Regions from separate parts of the Homo sapiens genome. Here region 2 is linked to region 1. The links are contacts of gene promoters, found by promoter capture Hi-C in blood cells and fetal thymus (Javierre and others, 2016). All regions are on one chromosome and are shown on one strand. The core of a region is centred on a gene start or on the middle of the fragment in contact, and the rest is flanking DNA. Distances in the headings are between cores, read along the strand shown. Region 1 holds the start of CC2D1B (coiled-coil and C2 domain containing 1B). Region 2 holds the start of ECHDC2 (enoyl-CoA hydratase domain containing 2).

Region 1 (6,345 bases), core at 76-2,575:
TACTCTAGGTTCAGGGTGGGTGGAAGGCTGGGTAGAATTCAGAAAGGCTCTAAAGCTGTGCTTATGGAAGCCACAGCTGGCTATTTAATTTTAAATTTCAATGAATTAAAATGAAATAAAGCTAAAAATCCAGTCCATCAGCCACAACAGACACATTCCAAGTGCTTAACAGCCATATGTGGTGAGGGGCTATGACCAGACAGCACACACACAGAACATTTTCATCATCCAAGGACATGTCATCAAAGTTCCATCTCACAGCTGAGCTCTGGAGAAAGCTGGCTCAGCATTCTGATTCCCATAAAGATCTCACAGTTATTCACAGGACCTCCTGTGTCAGACCTTGCGCTGGGCACTGGGAGCGCAGAAATGAACCTAAGACGGTCTCAGCCTTCAATGACCATTTACAGGGTGGAGGTGGACTACACGGGGTTGCCCCAGGGGCCATGGGTGCCCTGAGGTGACCCCTTCTTCAGCCCTGGGAGAAAAGGCTCCTCCTTCGAGGCGGTGACGCCTGAGCTGAGTCACGCAAAGAAGTTGGGGGAAAGAGGGAAATAGGATTCCAAGACGAGGGAACACTTGACGGCTCTGAAGTGGGGAGCAGCTTGGCCTGTACAATGGAACCTGAGGCCTGGTATGACTGGGGCATAAGCGGTGAGGCCTGAATGCACAAGCCGAGGTGGAAATGTGAGCAAGCGGCAGAATATGAAAACCTCTAAGCCGAAAAGCGTTTGGGCATTATTCTGAGGGCGCTGGGAAAGAAGTGGCGGGATCGTATCGGTGTTTCAGAAACCCCATTCTGGCACCAAAGGGGAGGTGCACAGAAGGTAGGGGGAAAAGGCAGGAAGCCGGCGCATCTCGCCACAGCGCTGGCGGGGAGACCAGCTGACGGGCGTGGAGGCGGCGGGGAGCGGGCGGAGGAGCTGGCGGGCGCTCCGGGGGACTCTGAGTGTCAGATTTCGGGAGTGACTCCGGCTCAGGTGAAAGCGAGGCCAGACACTCCAAGGCTGCGGCCCCGATGACACAGCCAGGCCTCACGGAAGGTGGGCAACGGAGTCCGTAGGGGGAGGCGACACGGGACCCCCACTCCCGCGCTGCGGGACGCGCCGCCCTGCCCCGCCCGCGCCGCCTCCATCTACCCCCGCGGTCCCCAGAACTCCCCACGCCGAGGGGCGGGGACGCGGCATACCTCGCGGTGAATCCGAGCCAAACCCCGGCCTTGTCTCACCCGGCACCGCCCTGGGCTCCCGCGGGCCCTGGGCCGCAGCGGTAGCGACAGGAAGCGCCAGCAGGGGAGGTGGCTCGCGCGCAACACGTGACCCCACTGGCCGGCGGCCGGCAGTGCGCATGTGCACGGCTACGCGGGCGGGGGGCTCCAACAGGTGACACCGGGGCGGGGTTCGCAGCGCGCAGGCGCGTTCGGGTAGGTAGCGCAGGACAGGAACTCTGGGCGGTTCCGCCGGGGCGTCCACCGGCCGGCTCCAATGAGGTCGCTGCGCCCAGCCCTCGCCCACTTGCAGCCTCTCCACCGAACCTCCTCCCTCACTCAGCCCGAGGCGCTGGGCGCTCGCTCGCTCGCTGGACCTACCCCGCCTCCAGCCCTCGCCCCGCCCCACCGAGCAAGAGGGCGGGGCCTACCCAAGCTCCGCCCTGGAAGAGAGACAGGGGCGGGGCTCACCTGCTTGTCCATGTCCTTTAAGCCTGGGGAAATGGAAATGGGGCCCACCATATGTTTCTTAATAATTCAGCACCTGAAAGTATCCTTTTCCGGTCCGTTGAAAACTTCAGACAGGCAGAGCTCGCTGCACATCTTAAATACTTTACAGAGTCTAACACTAAGTTCTCACTCGCCTACCCTGCTGTGCAATCAAATGGCATGGAGGATATTAAGGAGAGAAACGGAGTATACCCGTTTTCTGCCAAGCTTGTGTCAGTCACTTTTCATAATGGAGCTTATACCAGTTCTCAATCCTGCAAGATGGACATCATCTCTAGAAGAAACGGAGGCTCAGAGAGAATTATTTGCCCAGGGAAATACAAAACCAACCTCTTTAGCATCAGTAAATATGCTCTAGTCTAGTTTTCTAAGGAAAGCACGTTTCTCCCTGCGGCTTGCAGAGTCCAGTTAACAAGAGATTGAGCTCAGGAGTCCGAGACCAGCCTGGGCAACATGGCGAAACCCTGTCTCTACAAAAAATTACAAATATTAGCCGGGTGTGGTGGTGCGTGCCTGTAGTCCTACCTACTGAGAGGCCGAGGCAGGAGAATCGCTGTGGCCCCGGAGGTCCAAGCTGCAATGAGCTGTCAACTGCACTCCAACCCGGGTGACAAGGTGAGACCCTGTCTCAAACTAAAACAAACAAAAAAACCGAGAGCGGAGTAATGGGGAAGTGGCCAGATTCCCATCTAAAGTAACCACTTCGATTTTGGGGGGAAAGAGAACGGCTTAAAAGGAAAATTTGATATGGGAAGCATGCAAGAATTGTACAGAGTACAACGTCTGTGTGTCTTGTTCTGGTGGCTATCTTGGGTCCCAGCCTACCTGGAGCGTGGGCTGGTCTCATCTCCACAATGGCCCCGCTGTTGACTAGCCACCTTGAAGTAATCTTTGGAATTTTGCAGCTGTGTCTCCAGGCTTGGTTTGTCTGTCTCAAGATTAGCCCTTGGAACTTCTCAGAAGGCAGATAATTAAATACTAGCATACAGTAAGATAAATGTGAAGGGAGTATATACAGTGAGAAAGGGAGGGATATGGGGTCTATTTTACAGCTAAGGGAAAAGGCTTTTGCAGTTTGCTTCAAGGTTGTATCTTGAAACCCAAGAGAAAGGAAAAAAAGTTTTAAAATGTATTTTAAAGTTAAACTGCTGGATTAGTTTCTTCTGTCTAAAACATTGCCATCTCCTCTCCTGCCTATGCCTTGAACTTTTAAATTATGTTTTCTAGTTAGCGATCTCCCAGTTTACTTGGACAAAGGGCTTTTCCATCTCCTGATTGCTTACTTTTTTTCTTTTTTTTTTTTTTGAGACAGGATCTCATTCTGTCACCCAGGCTAGAGTGCAGTGGTGCGATCTCCACTCACTGCAACCTGCACCTCCCAGGCTCAAGCAATCCTCTCACCTCAGCCTCTTGAGTAGCTGGGACCACAGGCACGTGCCACCATGCCCAGCATTTTTTTTTTTTTTTTTGTAGAAACATGTTTTTGCTATGTGCCCAGGCTGATCTCAAACTCCTGAGCTCAGGGGATCAACCCACATCAGCCTCCCAAAGTGCTGGGATTACAGGCGTGAGCCACCATGCCCTGCCCATTACCATATTTAAATTGAGATTTCACATCCATATTTCTCATTCCTTTTAAAATTATTTAAAAATTTTTATAATGAAACATTTAAGATATAAACAAAGATACACAATATTTAACATTTACTAGAATGCAAGCTCCAGAAGGAGAAATTTTTTTATTGCTTCTCCAAGTGTCTCGTGTCTACAGCAGTGCATGGTACATAGTAGGCACTCAATAGTTCCTTGTTGTGTGAATTAACTACATGGACATCTATTACCAGTTTAAGGGAAAAAAAAAAGCAGGTGAGCGGGCGCGTCCCCGCGACCGCGCTGCCTCCCCGAGGCGGTTCACGTAAAGCCAGCGAGGCCCTGCCTGCCAGCCGGGAAGGAGGCGTGGTTATGGAGCTGGCGGCTGCAACCCCGGGGCCCGCGCCGCTGCCTAGCGCTTCCCGGGGGCTCTTTGGGGACGCGCCCCCCGCCGCGGCTCGGGGACCCGTAGAGCCCGGCGCTGCGCGGTTGGCCCTTCTCCCGCGCCCCGCGCTCACCCTCCTGCTCCTCCTCATGGCCGCTGTTATCAGGTGCCTGGAGCAGGCCTAGACCACCGACTGGAGGGCCACCCTGAAGACCATCCGGAACGGCGTTCATAAGATAGACACGTACCTGAACGCCGCCTTGGACCTCCTGGGAGGCGAGGACGGTCTCTGCCAGTATAAATGCAGTGACGGATCTAAGCCTTTCCCACGTTATGGTTATAAACCCTCCCCACCGAATGGATGTGGCTCTCCACTGTTTGGCGTTCATCTTAACATTGGTATCCCTTCCCTGACAAAGTGTTGCAACTAACACGACAGGTGCTATGAGAACTGTGGCAAAAGCAAGAATGACTGTGATGAGAAATTCCAGTATTGCCTCTCCAAGATCTGCCGAGAAGTACAGAAAACACTAGGACTAACTTAGCATGTTCAGGCATGTGAAACAACAATGGAGCTCTTGTTTGACAGTGTTATACATTTAGGTTGTAAACCATATCTGGACAGCCAACGAGCCACATGCAGGTGTCATTATGAAGAAAAAACCGATATTTAAAGGAGATGCTGACAGCTGGTGACAGATGAAGACGGAAGAACATAACCTTTGACAAATAACTAATGTTTTTACAACATAAAACTATCTGATTTTTGTGAAAAAAGAAAAACAAACATAGTTGGAGCTACCTGTACATCTCCCATATTGCAACACCTCCCTTTCCCAAAGATGTACCCATTATCCTAAATTTAGTGTTTATTATTCCTGAGCATTTCTATTTCTGTGTAGGTATCCTTAAGCAATACATAGTATTTTTTTTGCCAGCTTTTAAAAATTATATCATTGGTTACATACAGTGTAATTCTTCAACCTTTTTCTACTCAACCCTGTTTGTAAGCTTCACTCAAATTGACATGTATACTGTATCTAGTTAGCTGATTTTCATTTCTGTTATGATTCCATAGCATGAAAATAAGTCACTTTCCCAATGGCTTACCATTATAGAGTGCTATGAACTTTTTGTATATGACTCTTGGTGTACGTATGTGAATTTCTCTAGAGCATATACTTAGGAATGGAATTGCTGGCTGCATTAGTCAGGTTTCTCTAGAGGAACAGAACTAATAGGATATATATATATATATATGTGTGTGTGTGTGTGTATATATATATGTGTGTGTGTGTGTATATATATGTGTGTATATATATATATGTGTATATATATATATAGTCCCACAATAGGCTGTCTGCATGCTCTATTAACCATCACACTGGCTGATATGGTTTGGCTCTGTGTTCCCACCCAAATCTCATCTTGAATAGTAATCCCATAATCCCCATGTGTCCTGGGAGGCATCTTGTGGGAGGTAATTGAATCATGGTTTCCTTCATGCTGTTCTTGTGATAGGAGTGAGTTCTCACGAGATCTGATGGTTTTATAAGCATCTGGCATTTCCCCTGCTGGCACTCATTCTCTCTCCTGCTGCCCTGTGAAGAGGTGCCTTTCACCATGATTTTAAGTTTCCTGAGGGCTCCCCAGCCATGTGGAACTGTGAGTCAATTAAACCTCTTTTCTTTATAAATTACGCAGTCTCAGGTATTTCTTCATAGCGCGAGGACAGACTAATACACTGGCTCATACAATTTCTTGCATTTCCTAGGCTAAGATTCACCAAATAATCTTCAAAAGTCATTCCACCTCCATCAGCAGGGTATTGGGGTCCCAGTTGTTCTGTGTAACCATAGAAAGGTTTTCTAATAGATGTGAAATGGTTTTGGTTTGCATGCCTCTTTTACTGTTTCCATTTTCTTGGTCATTCGTGTTTCTTCTTTGGATGACTTATTTGTTATTTACCCATTTTTTTCTTTTTCCTTCTTTTTTTTTTCTGAGACAGTCTTGCTCTGTTGCCCAGGCTGGAATGCAGTGGCACAATCTTGGCTCACTGCAACCTCTGCCTCCTGGGTTCAAGCAATTCTTTTGCCTCAGCACCCCTGTAGCTGAGATTACAGGTGCACACCATCACCCCTGGCTAATTTTTGTATTTTTAGTAGAGATGGGGCTTCACCATGTTGGCCGAGCTGGTCTCGAATTCCTGACCTCAGGTGATCTACCTGCCTTGGCCTCCCAAAATGCTGGGATTACAGGTATGAACCACTGTGCCTGGCTCATTTTTTCTTTTTCATTGCAGTTTTAAAAATATTGATATTGATCCTCAATCCATTATATGTAATTATAAATACATATGTGAATATAGAAATACATATTTTTGCTAAATGATTTGAGAATGAGTTGCAGACATAATACATCACTTATAAATATTTCATTATGAATCTCCTAAGAACAGCATTCTCCTACATAATCACAAATTTATCACGCTCGGGGAATTTAACACTTACAAAATACTTCTGTCTAATACATAGTTAATAATGTTTATAATTGTTTATATTTCCTAAATCCAGGACCCAGTCAAGGTTTATATAGTGCATTTAGCTCTCATGTCTCTATTCTCCTTTGGTGTAGAATAGTTCCTCCATGTTTT
Region 2 (6,939 bases), core at 3,317-5,816, 560 kb after region 1:
GTAGCCTTGGTGTGCAGTAGGCTACCCCATCTAGGACTGTGTAGGTGCACTCTGTGATGCTCCCACAATGACCACAATCACCTAATGATGCATTTCTCAGAATGTAGCCCCGTTGTTAAGCAACACATGACTCTATGAGAAATAAAGCCGCTAAGAACAGTGAAGAATGGTTTACCACCCAACCTCAAGCTCAAAGGCAGCAGGTAAAATGTAACAGTGCTCTTGTGCCATCAGCCCCAGTGGAAGGCAGAACCTGCAGCTTCTAATATGAACATCAAATGACCCCAACTCATTCCCTGTGAGGGCTCCGTGTGTGATCTCATCCCCATGCCTCCTCTGCACTGTCATCTTGGTTTCTGTCTCTCCTTCTCTCACTGCCTTTTCCTGCCCTTTGAGCCCTCTGGCAGGGGCAGAGGCTTAATCTGCTGATCCTTGTCATTCTTTTTTGGATAAAATGATTCCCGATATTTGCAAGTGAGCCTAAAGGTCTTTAACCCATGATAATTTTGTGTTTACACATGTACAAGTCTGTATTTTGAGTCACTGAATTACTAGAAGAGCCAGTGATTACCTAATGGTTGAGAACACAGGCTTTGAAATCAGACCTGGTTCAAATAACTTAACCTTCTGTGCCTCAGTTTTTTAATCTGTAAAGTGGGGAGAATAATCTTGACTGTCTTAAGAGCTGTTGCCAGTTGGGTAGTGAACTAAGCATGAGATTGGGGGTATAAGGTTCAGCAATATTAACTGTTCAAGGAAATTCTCACCAAGTGGTGCAGTGGGACTCTAGGTGGCCTGTCCGTGTCCACTGAAGGTGGTAGATGCACACTTGGGAACAGTGGGCAACAGCAGGGAGCAAGGAACTGGATTTTATGGCAAAGCCCCGCTTCAAACTTGTTGTCAAGCCGGTAAAAAGGAAGCAATACTGCTGGGGAAGGGGCGGCAGGCGCCATGTCCGGCCACGAAGGTGGCAAGAAGCCACTGAAACAGCCCAAGAATGCAGGCCAAGGAGATGGACGAGGAAGATAAGGCTTTCAAGCAGAAACAAAAAGAGGAGCAGAAGAAACTCGAGGAGCTAAAATGGAAGGCCACGGGGAAGGGGCCCTTGGCCACAAGTGGAATTAAGAAATCTGGCAAAAAGTAAGCTGTTCCCTGTGCCTAAGGAGATGGTGACCCTTTATTTCATCAGTATTTAAACCTCTCTATTCCCTGCCATAACATCTTTTGCCACCTATGGCTGGAATTAAGTGTTGTCTTGGAGCTGTTGTACATTTAAGAATAAACTTTTGTTAAAAAAAAAAAAGAAGCAATACAACGAAATGTACAGTACAATGCCATCTGTGTATCAAATGCAGGAGACAGGGGATGAGATGCGGGGAGGAGACCCAAGGCAGGAGAAGCGCCTAGCCCTGATGGTTACCAGCAGAGGACTGAGGAGCGTTATCAGCACCACTGAATGCTCCAGAAGTTCAAACAACAACAACAACAAAAACGCAACACGCGATCAGAGGCGTTTTCTGCCAGTGACCCGCGAACTTTGCCCCCCACCCCTCGTCCCCGCTCCATACTATCCTTGATCTTGGCCAAAAGGCGGAGAAACAGCGAACTTTTCCCTGGAGCCAGAAGGACGCAAAGGTTCGCTAGCGGCCCAGGGCGGGCGCGCGGCTGGAGAGGCACCCTCCTCACTCTGCCCGCTGCCGCACTGGGCACTGGGACTGGCTCCGCTGCCTCCGCCCCCGAACCGGGCCAGGACCCTTGGCGGGGGAGGGGAACGCGCACTTAAACGCTCCTGGCCTGGGGGCCGCGGGGCCCAGTCCTACCCGTGCGGACCCCGCTCCCCCTTCCACACAGTCGGAAGACCCCAAAGGGCCTTTGAAGAGACCGAGGTTGCCAGAGGCCCCCCGCCCCCAGCTAGAGTCTGGAGCCACTAAGGCGGCCGCCCACCTCTCAGGCCTGGAGCGGTTTGGGGCGCCTAGAACTGGGAGGGAGGGACTGGGGATCGAATCCTTCAACGCACTGAGCGGCCCACCTGCCGGTCCCCCGCTGCCTCCGGCCTAGTCCCAGTCGCGTCATGCGCCGCCCCGGAACTGCACATTTACCTTGGTCCGGACCCGCCAGGGCGCGCACTTGGATCTCTGAGCCCCCGGCCGCCCCGTCGGAAGCGCAGCCGCGGGCCCGAAGGGGCCTCCAGGGGCGCAGGAGGCACAGAACGCGCAGCATCGGGGCGCAGGCTGGGAGTGAAGGTGCTTCTCCGGCCCTGCACCGTCTCGGCTCCCGCTGAGAGCTCGCAGTTCCGGCGTCGGGCGAAGCCTTCGCCAATTGCTCCACCTATGGGCCAAGCGTCTGTTGCCTCCTTCCGCACCTCCCGGGGACAGGGAGACTTGAGCGGAGGAGGTCGGGGGAAGCCCAGCTCCTCTGTGTGATTTGGTGTAACTCTGTCAACCTCCCAGCGTCAGTGTTTTAATCCTGTAAAATGGGGATAATAGTGACTACCCCGTGGTGGTGTGAAGATTAAATGGGGTGTGTGAACCTTGCTTGCACATATGCTCAATTTCATTTTTTAAATGAAATGACATTTAATGAGTCCCTTGAGCGTGTCTACACTTGCGAACCTCACTGCTTCACCTCCCATTTGCGCCTCACTTTTTTTTTTTTTTTTTTTTTTTGAGACGGAGTCTCGCTGTGTCGCCCAGGTTGGAGTGCTGTGCCTTGATCTTGGCTCACTGTAACCTCCGCCTCCGGGTTCAAGCGATTCTCCTGCCTCAACCTCCCAAGTAGCTGGGATTACAGGGACGCGCCACCACGCCCAACTAATTTTTTTTGTATTTTTAGTAGAGGCAGGGTTTCACCATGACGAAACCCTGTCTCTGTTAAACATTCAAAAAAATTAGCTGGGCGTGGTGGCGGGCGCCTGTAATCCCAGCTACTTGGGAGGCTGAGGCAGGAGAATCACTTGAACTCGGAAGGCACAGGTTCAGTGAGCTGAGATCGCGCCACTGCACTCCAGGCTGGGCAATGAGCGAAACTGCGTCCCAAAAAAAAAAATTATTCTCTTAAACACAGTATATACAAAGCACTCTCACATTGCTGATGTGAATGTCTTTAAATGAAAAGCAACTGGTAATTTATATCAAAATTATAAATGCACAAGCTCATTGCCCCAGAAATTCCAATTTTAGAAATTTAACCTACAGATAAATCCACACAGCTGTGAAATGACACGTGTTCATGGCTGTACATTGCAGCATTGTTTATAATAGCAAAAGACTGGAAGCACATGGTGCTGTCATGTGCTTCTGGTGAGGCCTCAGGAAGCTTACAATCATGGCTGAAGGTGACAGGGATCCAGCATGTCACATGGCGAGAATAGGAACAAGAAAATTAGGTGGGGAGGTCCCAGTTTATCGCCAAGGGGATGGTGCTAAACCATTCACAAGGGATCTGTCCCCATGATCCAGTCACCTCCCAACAGGGCCCACCTCCAACATTGGGAATCATATTTCAACGTGAGATTTGGAGGGATCCAACACCCAAACTATATCACAGTCTCAATATCCATCAATAGAGGGTTGGTTAAATAAATTATGGGGCTGTGTGTGGTGGCTCACCCTATTATTCCAACACTTTGGAAGGCCAAGGCAGGTAGGTCCCTGGAAGCCAGGAGTTTGAAACCAGCCTGGGAAATATAGCAAGCCCCTATCTCTACTTAAAAAAAAAAAAAAGGTACATCAATAATCTGAATACTATGCAGCTATAACAAAACACAGGAAACTGTTTATGCATTGATATGAAACAATCTTCAAAATCTATTGGTATATGAAACAAGTCAAAATGCAGAATAGTGTGTAAAGAAAGCTAAAATTTGGCCGGGTCTGGTGGCTCATGCTCATGAACCTAGCACTTTGGGAGGCCGAGACAGGAGGATTGCTTGAGGCCAGGAGTTCAAGACCAACCTAGCCAACATAGCAAAACCCCACCTCTATTGAAAGAAATAATAAAGAAAACAAAAATTTGTGTTAACAAGGGGGATAAGAGTATGCATGTGTATATTTGATTGTATTTACATAAAACATCTTTGGAAGGATAGGGAAGAAGAACCGAGAGGCTGGGAATAAGGGTAAGAGAGACAAGTTTTACGGTTTGACCTGTTATACGTTTTTGGACACAGGATGTTGTTGTTGCCCAGATTGGAGTGCAGTGGCAGTATCTTGGCTCACTGCAGCTTCTGCCTCCCGGGCTCAGGTGATCCTTCCACCTCACCCTCCTGAGTAGCTGGGACCACAGGTACATGCCACAACATTGGCTAATTTTTGTATTTCTTGTAGAGACGGGGTTTTGCCATGTTGCCAAGGTTGGTCTCGAACTCCTGAGCTCAGGCGATTTGTCCACCTTGGCCTTCCAAAGTGCTGGGATTACAGGTGTGAACCACCATGCCTGGCCCCTTTTATACTTTTTGAATCTTGATTTTTGTTTTAAGTATAACTTACTCAAAATAAATAATGAAAATGAAAACAAAGCACAATAACAAAAATTAAAAACATGCCTTAGCAAAAATAAAACTAATATATACACAAAATCAAAACATACAAACTAGCCAGGCCCGGTGGCTCATGCCTGTAATCCCAGCACTTTAGGAGGCTGAGGTGGGTGGGTCACCTGAGGTCAGGAGTTCAAGACCAGCCTGGCCAACATGGTGAAACCCTGTCTCTACTAAAAATACAAAAATTAGCCAGGCGTGGTTGTGGGCAGCTGTAATCCCAGCTACTCAGGAGGCTGAGGTGCAAGAATCGCTTGAACCCAGGAGGTGGAGGTTGTAGTGAGCTGAGATCACACCACTGCACTCCAACCTGGGCAACAGAGTGAGATTCTGTCTTAAAAAAAAAAAAGAAGCAAAAACAAAACATACAAACTATAATTGGGTATAAGATTAAAAGAAAAACCTTCCCTCCTCCATATTCCATGCATTTATTGTATTCTATTTTATTGAGACAGGGTCTCACTCTGTTGCCCACATTGGAGTACAGTGGTGCAGTCAGTTCACTACAACCTCAGACTCCTGGGCTCAGGGGATCCTCCCGTCTCAGCCTTCCGAGTAGCTGGGACTACAGGAGTGGGCCACCACACTTGGCTCATTGTTAAATTTTTTGTAGAGACAGAGGTCTCCCTATGTTGCCAGGCTGGTCTCAAACACCTGGCCTCAAGTGATCCTCCCACCTCAGCCTCCCAAAGTGCTGGGATTACAGGTGTGAGCCCCCATGCCTGGCATCCACCCATTTAAAAAGATTTTTCTTGTTTTTTCTTCTTTTTTTTTAGAGATAGGGAGCTATGTTGCCCAGGTTGGTCTTGAATTCTTGGGCTCAATCAATCCTCCCATTTTGGCCTCCCAAAGTGCTGGGATTACAGGCATGAGCCACTGTGCCTCGCTGCTTTTTGTCTTTTTGTATTAACAGAAAAGGTCTCACTATGCTGTCCAGGCTGGAGTGCAGTGGCTATTCACAGGCATAATCGTAGCTCACTGCAGCCTTGAACTCCTGGACTCAAGCAGCCTTTCTGCCTCAGCTCCTCAAGTAGATGGGATTACAGTCTCGTACCACCACACCCAGCTTAAAATGATATTTATTGTATTTTATCTGGCATTTCTGGGTGTTTTTTTTTGGTATACTTATTCATGCCACAAAGTAAGTGGTACTTATATAAGTGTACAGTGATTTTCCAGGTTCCTTTCTAACATAGCTTGCTTAAATTCACAGGTCGACTAATGTTTCATTTCATGTGCATGCTAAGTGAAGCTGGTTAGTGATGACCATAAGCAGGTGGAGAAGCTTTCAATATTTTACTTATTTTATCAGTACTCCTGATTTTATAAATGATGAGGCTCATTAACCCCATTCCTACTCAAATCTCCTGATAAACTTGGTTATAATAGGGCTTCATGGGGATCCAAACATTTTTAATAATGTTTTGAAGCATCTTGGTGTGGGACAAACAGCTCAGGCTACCCCAGAGCCCCACATCCAATGACTTAGAAAAGTCTGTGTTTTATAGTGGGAAAAGTTTGGATTATTTAGTCCTTCACATTGGAAAGGGAAGTGTTTTTTCTCAGTCTTTTCGGTATTAACAAATACCTTTTATATTACTATCTATCCCCTCTGCCCTCTATGGACTCTTATTTTGAAAGCAATATCCAGTGGACAGCCAGGATTTGTTACATAACAATTAATCTTGACCTTAGGACTTGTTGTTCTATTAGGTTGGTAACTTTGTCTGATCCACCAATCATATTGCTGTCTTGTCAGTCCATCAGTTTCAAGAAACAACTGTACATGTCAGTGCCCTGATTTGTGTTTGTTTTTCTTTTTTTTTTTTTTTTGTTTCGTTTTGGTTTTTTAGAGACGTGGTCTTGGTATGTTGCCCAGGCTGGAGTGCAGTGGCTATTCAGAGGTGTAATCATAGCACATTTGTAGCCTTGAATTCCCAGGCTCAAGTGATCTTTCTGCCGAAGCCTCCTGAGCAGATGGGAGGCGTGCATCACTGAGCGCAGCAATTTTACTAAGTTGGTCTAGTCCTAGCTCAGTAGTTCTTTACTTAGCACAGAGGGGGCTTCTTAGAATCTCCTAAACTTGATCTTAGCCAAATGGCCAAGAAGCAATCCTTAGAATCTTCTAGGAGAGCCTTTCTAAATGCTGATACTGCAAACCGAAAAGTATATGAAACGGATCTCAATTAATTTAGAAGTTAATTTTGCCAAGTTTAAGGACGTGCATCATCTTTGGAGACAGGTCCGTGCCTTTCTCCAAAGATGATTTTGAGGGCTTCAGTTTTTATAGGGGAAGGGGCAGATATTGGGGAAAGATGAATAAATTTTAAAAAGATGTGGGTAGATAAGAGGCAAACGGTTGCATTCTTCTGAGTCTTTGATCAACCTTCACATGTGAGGGG

Evidence for each region. Contacts are between HindIII fragments. The CHiCAGO score rates a contact against its expected background, and 5 or more counts as called.
Region 2: a contact is called between a fragment that was not itself captured here and the fragment with the promoter of CC2D1B in region 1, in 1 of 17 cell types (naive CD4 T cells). The highest score is 6.4, in naive CD4 T cells.

Annotation. Positions count from the first base shown.
Region 1 is chr1:52,364,880-52,371,224 of GRCh38, forward strand. CC2D1B (coiled-coil and C2 domain containing 1B) reads right to left here and starts at 1,326. Exons shown (of 25, transcript NM_001330585.2): 1 at 1,190-1,326. It also overlaps the pseudogene PLA2G12AP1. RefSeq lists silencers at 926-1,035, 1,076-1,705, 3,688-3,787, 3,848-3,927 and an enhancer at 3,518-3,567. The HindIII fragment of the contact is 5,331 bases long and covers 1-1,922 here.
Region 2 is chr1:52,919,454-52,926,392 of GRCh38, forward strand. It overlaps ECHDC2 (enoyl-CoA hydratase domain containing 2), which reads right to left and starts at 2,287. Exons shown (of 10, transcript NM_001198961.2): 1 at 2,100-2,287. The coding sequence starts at 2,220. It also overlaps the pseudogene LOC112268226 and the pseudogene LOC100652967. RefSeq lists an enhancer at 1,990-2,672 and silencers at 2,007-2,185, 2,034-2,263. The HindIII fragment of the contact is 2,507 bases long and covers 3,314-5,820 here.